Linked DNA regions of Homo sapiens: all the other regions are linked to region 1. The links are contacts of gene promoters, found by promoter capture Hi-C in human tissues and cell types (Jung and others, 2019). All regions are on one chromosome and are shown on one strand. Each heading gives the region's core, a stretch centred on a gene start or on the middle of the fragment in contact. The rest is flanking DNA. Distances are from core to core; before and after follow the strand shown. Region 1 holds the start of KCNA5 (potassium voltage-gated channel subfamily A member 5). Region 2 has its middle 39 kb from the start of KCNA5. Region 3 has its middle 55 kb from the start of KCNA5.

Evidence for each region. Contacts are between HindIII fragments. The study calls those that stand out against the background at their distance.
Region 2: a contact is called between a fragment that was not itself captured here and the fragment with the promoter of KCNA5 in region 1, in 2 of the 25 tissues and cell types used here (aorta and pancreas).
Region 3: a fragment that was not itself captured here is called in contact with the fragment with the promoter of KCNA5 in region 1 in 1 of the 25 tissues and cell types used here (heart left ventricle).

The regions. Positions count from the first base shown.
Region 1 is chr12:5,042,420-5,045,173 of GRCh38, reverse strand. KCNA5 (potassium voltage-gated channel subfamily A member 5) reads right to left here and starts at 1,295. Exons shown (of 1, transcript NM_002234.4): 1 at 1-1,295. The coding sequence starts at 1,026. The HindIII fragment of the contact is 15,094 bases long and covers 1-2,754 here.
Region 2 is chr12:5,081,318-5,084,217 of GRCh38, reverse strand. No RefSeq gene overlaps it. Among named protein-coding and RNA genes, the nearest start is that of KCNA5, 39 kb to the right of the region's middle. The HindIII fragment of the contact is 3,219 bases long and covers 1-2,900 here.
Region 3 is chr12:5,097,908-5,100,696 of GRCh38, reverse strand. No RefSeq gene overlaps it. Among named protein-coding and RNA genes, the nearest start is that of KCNA5, 55 kb to the right of the region's middle. The HindIII fragment of the contact is 8,875 bases long and covers 1-2,789 here.

The DNA.
Region 1 (2,754 bases), core at 46-2,545:
GCGCACGAGCAGCTCGAAGGTGAACCAGATGACGCACGTGGTCTCCACGATGAAGAAGGGGTCGGCCAGGGTCCTGGGCAGGAGCGGTGCCACCGTAGGGCCAGAGGGCGGGGCCATGACCCCGCTGCCGTTGGCCCCAGGGGCGGGCGCGGGAGGCTGGTGGGGCGCCGGAGGGTGGCGGAGCAGCTCACGTTCATCCCTGAACTCAGGCAGGGTCTCCAAGCAGAAGGTGATGATGGAGATGAGGATAACCAAGACCGAGACGATGGCGATGGCCCGCGCGGACCCAGAGCTCTCCGGATACTCGAAGATAAGCCACACCTGGCGCTGGAACTCGTTGCGGGGCAGGGGCTTCTCCTCTTCTTTAATGAAGCCCTCATCCTCGCGGAAGCGCTCCATGGCCTCGTCCCCCAGCTGGTAGAAGCGTATCTCGTCCGCGAACACGTCCAGGGAGACGTTGACCGGCCTCCGCAGGCGGCCCCCGGACTGGTAGTAGTAGAGGATACCGTCGAAGCTGGGCCGGTTGCGGTCGAAGAAGTACTCGTTCCTCAGGGGGTCGAAGTAGCGCAGGCGCTTGGCGGGGTCCCCCAGGAGTGTGTTGGGGAACTGCGCCAGGGTGCCCAGCTGCGTCTCAAAGCGCAGCCCGGAGATGTTGATGTGGACGCGCTGGTGGTGCAGGGACGCCGTGCCCAGAGCCTGGTCCTCCACCGTGCCCAGGCCGGGATCGCCTTCTTCCTCCTCGTCCTCGGGAGGCGGCCGTCGAGGCCGTGGCAGCTCCTCTGGCAGCGGAGGCAAGGGCCGCACTCCCGGGTCCGGCAGCGGAGGCAAGGGCCGCACTCCCGAGTCCGCGTCTCTCTGCGCGCCGCGCCCCTTTGGCGCCGGCTCCTTGGGCCCATCGCTGAGCCCAGCCGTCGGGGGACACTGGAGCTCTCCCCCTGTGGCCTGGCCGCAGCCTGCCCGGGCCTCATCGCCTCCTCTGACGGTCATGGCACCGCCGTTCTCCAGGGGCACCAGGGCGATCTCCATGGCGCGGGAGCAGAGGGCATGCTGCGCCCCAGCTGACCGGCTCCCGCGCCCCCTACTCACGCTCCGCGGGCGCCTGGCGTCAGGCTCCGCTCCAGCGGTCGGCCGGCCCCTCTCTGGGGAGAGCTGGGGTTGCTGGCGCGATCCCCTCGCTTGGCCCTGACGTCAAGAAGCCGCTGCCCTGCTCTCTGCCTCTCTCTCTTCTGGCAGCCCGTTACCAAGCAGCCGAAAAGCCTCCTTCCAGCAGATGCAACCTTCAGCCGCCCCTCTCTGGCTGCGCCGCGCTTGGCCTCCACCCTCGGCGCCTCCCCCGCCTTCCCCTCCTCTCCCCCTCCTCCCGCTTCCCCTCCCGGGTCTCGTGGCAGCGGGTGTCTCCCCGGAGGGCGCAGCTGGGGCCCCTAGCAAGGGAAAGGAGGGGCTGAGAAGGGTGCAGCCCAGCGGAGGGAGGGAAGGAGTGGGGAGGATGGAGGAACAGGTTGTACCGACAGCGCTGAAATTCCCAGGGCAACCAGATGAGAATAGCTCTGGATTTCAGTTCACCTGGGAACCCGCTGGAAGCCGAGTGGACTCCAGGAGGAACGAAGTGCCTTGGGCTAAAGGGACGAGGCTTTGAGCTGAGTCGGAGTATGAGAGACAGAGACGGGAGACACCAGTCCTTTTTATTTTGGAGAAATAACGGTATTTCTTTGGGAAGGATTACAGAAGGGAGGGGGGCCACGTAGTTACGGACCTTGAAATACATGTATCAATGGAGAAGCATCTCTCTTCCCGTCTTCCTACAGATCCACAAAAATGTACAAGGGGGTTGGAACCCTGCAGGATTCCCATGCCCTAGCCTGTTTCCAGTACAGACCTGGTGGCAGCCCAGGCAAGCAGCCTAGTCAGGAGATGAGCTGTCTGGTCTCAACCCAGCAGAACCCCTCCACCCGCTCCAACGAATCCCATTTGCAAAAACCACAGCAGGGAAGGGGAGAAGCGATTTTTACAATCCTGGTGAGGGCTAATCCTGCCTGGTGAATCTTGGACCGAGCAACTGCATCTAGGTCCATGAAGGAGACTGAGGGTGGAGGTGGCTTATGAGAGGGAGCCAGGGAGGTTGTCCAATCTCCAAGGCTGGAGCATTCCCAAGAATGGAATAATAACAACCAATACTTACTTGGCTCTCATTATGCACCAGCCCACTCTCAGCACTTTACAAATATTGTCTCTGTGTATTCCTACAGCAACCTATTTTGTAAGTACTATTATCATCACCATTTTATAAATGAAGAAACTGAGGCACAGAGAGATTGACAGACTCACCCAGGCTTATGCAGGTGGAAACTGATGATGCTGGAACTCAAACTCAAACAATCAGAGTTTGGCCCTTGTCCCCTATATTTCACTCCTCTATAGAAATGCATAATCCCTTTTCCTGATACAAGCACTCCCTCACTCCAACATCTGGCCTGAGAACTTTAGTTCCCTGCTGCAGAAGGCAGGATGATGGCTGATATAACATATTAATCTTTCTAGGTTGGGACACTAGGAAATCTTCCCCTGCCCTGTCTCAACCCCTGCAGGGTTTTAGCAGGCATTGGTAACCAAGAGGAATCTGTTTCAAGGTGTGTGTCTGGAACTGCCAGACACAGTCTCCAGAAGTTTCTTGGTTTTAAATTATCATAAAGTGGCTGTGTTTTTGAATGTCTGTTTTCATTGTCTATTTTTGTTTCTGCATATTGCTTCAGATTT
Region 2 (2,900 bases), core at 275-2,774, 39 kb before region 1:
GGGCCTAAAACTACACTCGTTGTGATGGATGGAAATGAGTCAGGAAAAAGAACATTCCAGGGTTGATATGCGCTCGCCAATGGAATGGAGACTTCCATCTTTAGAGGACTTTCCAAATGATAGCCCCCTTTAGCAGTCTAGAGACAGGCGATGGGAAAGCCAGCTTCTGCAGAAACCTGTCATTGCTTCCAACCCAGGAGGCATATTTTGGAGCACATGAAGGTTGGTTTATTCTTGTGATTTTAGGGCCTGTCTCCAAGCTCTGAAAGTTCTTGCAGCTCTTGCTACCTAGTTTAGGAATTTTAGAAAAGATAAGAGAAAATGTGGGCAGAAAAAAAATCTGAAATTGTGCACTACATTCCTTTCATTTAATAATTATAGGTAAATTTGACTGAGTACATAATACATGCACAAAGCATTTTACAGGAACAATCTGATTTCATCATCACAGCAAACCAATGAAGTGGAGGCAATCCTCATTGCACGGAGTATTAACTTGCCCCAGTCCCACAGCAAGTAAGTGGCAGAGTTGGGACTTCTACTCAGTTAGACCTCAAAGCTCATCTTCACACCTACAACATGTGGGAGCCTCCTGGTGTGTGCTGGGGATGGCATGGCTGCTGTGCCAGGGGCTGGGCATAGAGATTGATGAGACACAAGTTTCTGACCTTAAGGGAATCTGGAAGATGACTGACACATGAATGAGATACAAGGTGCCAAGACTAACATACAGTGCTCTAACAGCCCAGAGGATACACCAGTTAATGGCCTGAGGGGTCATCAAGTAAAGTTTTGAAAACCTGAGAGGCAAAGAAGGCCATTCCGGGCACAGAGGAGAAGTGGTGCCAAGACACAGAGGCATAAGCTTACACAATGTCCAGAAAGAAGGTTAGTACATGATGCATAAAAAACAGAAGGAGATGAAATTAAAAGCATCAGTGAGGGTTGACACATGTATAGCCCAACATGGGGGTTGGATTTTCAACATCAAGGCTGGAGGTGGTGGTTTGGGCCAATGCGTTTTGGAGGATGGGGAAGGGAGAGGTGCTTTGCAGAAGGACGATGGTGTATGTTCCCACTGGCTGCACAGTCCTGAGGGCTTTTCCACCCTCCCATGGTGAACCTGAGCAAGTTCTTGGTACCTTAGTCAGGGGGGAAGGAAAAGGACATCTTTCTATGTTAAAATGAATGAAGAATAAATCAGAAATTTGAGTACCACTTTGGAAACCTACTGGGAAACTCCAGCTTATCTACTGAGGTTCCTAAAGGACCAAAGCCTCAGGCTCCTAGACAAAGCTTTGTGAAGCATAGGCAATGGTCAGGGCACAGTGGGAATTGCAGAAGGATGGGGCGCTGGCACTGTGGTTTTTAGGGACACTGCAGAAGAAGTTTCCTTTGGAACAAAGAGCTCCCTATTAAGAGTCAGGAACTAGAGTCTCAGCTTGTATTTGCCATCATTCTACATAAGTAGGAATCTCACCTGTGCTGGGGAATGCTTCCTTTTCACAGAATGGCATCTGAGCTAACACATCTTTTGTCTTTTGTTTTCTCTAGACTATTTCTTAATTTAAAGAAATTAAGGGCTCCGATATAGGGCCCTGAAATAGTCAGAAAGGCCAATTACTGAATGTGGGGAACCACAGAACCAAGAGAAAAATACAGTAACAACATTCTAGCGTGTGTGTGTGAGTGTGTGTGTGTGTGAGTGTGTGTGTGTGTGTGTCTGTTTCTCTAATCTTTTTCCTGTTCTCTAGGTAGAAAAATTCTTATTCTCCAGATAGTCTTCCTAGACACAATATTCCTGACCCTTGAAGAAACAATGTGCCCGCAGTAGCCTGACCCTTTAACACGCACTCGGCCTTCTTCTTTCACTCCCATGCTCCCTCCGCTGGAGCAAGGTGAGCCTTATCTGCCCCCTCTCCCACCCGGCTGTCACAGAGTGCCAGCTTATCCCTCCTGACCTCCATGGCTTTATCTTGCTTAAGAAGACAGATTTGGCAGTCCCAGAAATCAAAACATTTCTCTGTCTAGATTCTGCTGACCAAGATACAATTATCTCTGACCCATTAAATGCATTAAGTGGTTTTTATTATTATAGAAATAATTGCATGCCCATGATCTTAAAAAATAGCTACATCACAGAAAGACATGAAACAAGAAAATTCTCCCTCCTCTGCCCTCCAGAGATAACCGCAATGACTAGTTTCTGGCTTTTGTTCTTCTCATGGTTACCATCTTAGTAGAAAACAAAATGTTTATGCTTCTATTGCTGATTTACCTAATTTTAACAGAAATTGTTGTCTACCAAGTGTCACAGATAGGGAATTTGTTGAATTCTGCAACCTCATACCCTCTCCTCGCTGGATCTTAATTTTTATCAGTAACTATTTTAATTTTTCCCTAGTACTTATCTTTGTGACATTAAATAACATACCTAAAATTACTTTAAACATAAATAAACTTTTAAAATACTTAGAATTTTAAGATTAGTATTTCCTTGCAAATGTGGACAGTATCTGTTAACCTCTCTCTATGAAAGATGAGAAATTCCTTTTTCCTCTTTTCTATCTCTCAAAATCCCAATGTATTGTGTTATTTCGTCAATGTCGACAATGATCCTATTCCACGCCAAAGCATACCTTCTATCTGAAATTTTAACATTAATAAAACCCTGGTTTCTCTTGTTCGGTGTTAAGGGCTTCGCACATTAATACTGGTCTACAAAGGAAAATCCCCACAAACTAGCTGATACCCCCCTTCCGTTTCTTGAACTCCTCTACCTCCACCTCAATTACGTCATAACAGATAAAGCTGGATATATCTTTGAAACCATAGAAAGCTGAAACTGGGATAAGCAACTTGTATGGCTGGAGAAGAAGGGAGATTATTTCCCCACCCTC
Region 3 (2,789 bases), core at 140-2,639, 55 kb before region 1:
GCTCAACTGGATTCAGGATTTACAGCAAAATTGGAGTTCGAGGGTAGGAAATTTAGAGATGATCTAGTCCTAATACTTACTTCCAAGTTCTAGGAGGCAGAGGTAAAACTCTTATGCGTAGAAAAGTGTGCATAAATAAAGGTATTTAAGTGTTAAAAATAATAGGGGCAGCTGAACTACAGAATGCAATTAAGTATGATAGGGTTACTGTAAAAAGCATTTAAAAATTTAACTTCCAAACTTCCCAGTTGTTCTGCTGTAACTCTTTGGGTCAATAACTCCTCAAGGAAATCTGATCCTCAAAACCCTACTTGGAACTGTATGGGCTCCCCAGTGACCTCAGGAAAAAAGGTCAAAACCTTATCCCTTGCTTCACAGCTGAGGGATAAGCAGATCAGAGGGAGAAGTGATCATTCCTAGGCCATCAGCAGGTAAGTGGCAGGTGGGATGGAAACCCCATCTTCTGTCCTTTGTCCTGTGCTCTTCCCAATATGCCATACTACTTCACAAAGGTGTCCCAGGTCGTTGTTCCTGAAGAGGTGGCTGAAGGTAACTAGAGGCAGCATCTCTTCTGCAGTGATTTGAATGCCATCCTCCCTGAAGGCAGAGGGATAACCAGCCACAGCCCTGCCAGCTGAGCAGGCCATGGGTCAGTCCAGACCATAAAGGAAGTGATGAGTGTAGATGGACACCGTACCAGTCAGGGAAAACAAAAAAATCCTGCAAAGTTCTGGGCCAGAAATTCCTACCCAGAGTTAGAAAATTAACTGATAGCCCTTCTGCTCTAATTCAGAGGCATTTGAGCAATGCAGAGCAGTGAATTTTCCACGTTTAAGTCCAATATCATAAGGCATTTCAATTCCCCAAATCCCTTCTCTCTTTTCAGCCAGCTGTCTCCTTTCTTCATAGTGCTCTTTGTGTAGAGGCCTCTCCGGACCAGTCGGCTTCTATCATGGAAATCATTCTGTTTCCCGCTAAAAGGCGAAAGAAAATTCACCCACCGAACCACAGCAAATTGCAGTGACAGTGTGGAGACCCCAGAGAGGTGCCATATTGATTAAAATGTTCAAGTTAGTAAGAAAGGAAGAGAGAAGAAAGGAACCGTGTAGACTCTTTAAAGATAGGGACGGAGAGGAGGAGGAATAGGGGTGGAGGAAAACAGGGAAAGGAGCATCCACCTCTTGCAGCCTGTCCCCCTGGAGACCTTCCAACATGATCGCTGGGCACGCTGCGAGAAAAAGCATCTAAGGTGCAGAGGGCCAGGCTGGAACTGTTGCCCATCCCTGCACTCGCGCATGGCAGATGTGCATCGCCGATGCACTTCGCAGCCCTCCGCTGTCGCCCCCTTGTGCGGAGCAATACTGCGAGGTGCAGCCAGGAATCTGCAGAGCAGACCCTACCAGTGTAGTGGACAGTGGACAGCTGGATGCCATCTGGAGGTGTAGGTACAGCCCTAGTCCGAAGGGGGTTTGCAGGAAGCACTGAATTTTTCTGAATGACCTTGGGAATAAGGATCCATCACAAGTGTCAGCTTAAATGGTTCCCTGCATTAACAGTCATCAGTAAACAGAGTAGCAATGGCTCACATTGTGTCACAGTGCTTGACAAAGTGCATTATTTCATCTAGTCCTTGCTGCCTCCCAATAAGGGAGAGATTTTTGTCACTGTTTTGTGGATGAAGAAACTGAGGCTCAATGAGGTTCAGTGACTTACCCAGGAGACAGGAAAGCACAGTGCCTTGCCTTGAATGAGGTCCCAGCACTCCAGGCTCATAAAGCACCGTCTGAAACCCCAAGGAAAAGTGGTCTAACTCCTCCGCCTCCCTTCTACTCCTCTATGTGGCAATGACACTGACTCTCCCACCCTCATAGACCAAGGTGGAGCTGGTCTGACTGTAATGCTCCTCACGTGCTCTCCTGGTTGTATGTGAACTCAATTGGAACGGGCTCCAGTATCAGGATTCACTCAACAAATTTTTTTTTTGAATTCCAACTAGAAACTGGGAGATTCTGTGATTTTAAAAAATCCCAGGTCAAATGGGCCAGGAATTTTATTATTTTCCCCACTGAACAGAGAAAACAAGAGAAGCTCAGAATGAGACAGCTGCCTCAGTCACAGCACAAATCAGTTAGTCTAAATTCAAGACTTTTTGCACCCAACATGTCACCTGCATTCAGGGACCAAGCTCTTTTGCAGAGAAGTGGGAGACTGGACTGCATGACCTTGAGTACTCCCCTTGACCCTGGGGCTCTCATGGAGGACTGCGGCAGACTTGGAGGTGTTAGGGCTGTGATTCCTCCAGACTTAGTCTGGTGGATAAGTAGTTGAATGGGATCTCAGAGACTTTGGCTCTAGGCCTGAATTTTACCAGAGGCTGGATGCGTGACTTCAGGCAAGTCGCTTCACCTCTCTGGGAGTTGTTTTCCTGAGAGTGATCTGAGGGGTGGGATGGGAGGGTCTCTTCTTCCTGCTCCATGTGCTGGCCCCAGAGCCAGGTGGCCTCATGGGTTTGCTCTTCTGTGCTGGTTGCTGTTGAGGGTGTTGACTGAGTTCATCTGTTTACTGAGACACATGCAGCTGTCCCCCCTTCAATTACTTCATCACAGGCGCTGACAGACCCTCCGGGGCAGGGGTCTTGGCACTGCCTCGCTAGGGAGCATCTCCAATCATTGCCCGTCCTCATCAAATTCAGATTTATGGAGTGTGAGGGCAGAAGAGGCTGAGGAAGGCCACGGAACACATGGTCTCCAGGCCCCTCAGGAGCTTGTGCTCTGCTCTAGGGCCATTTC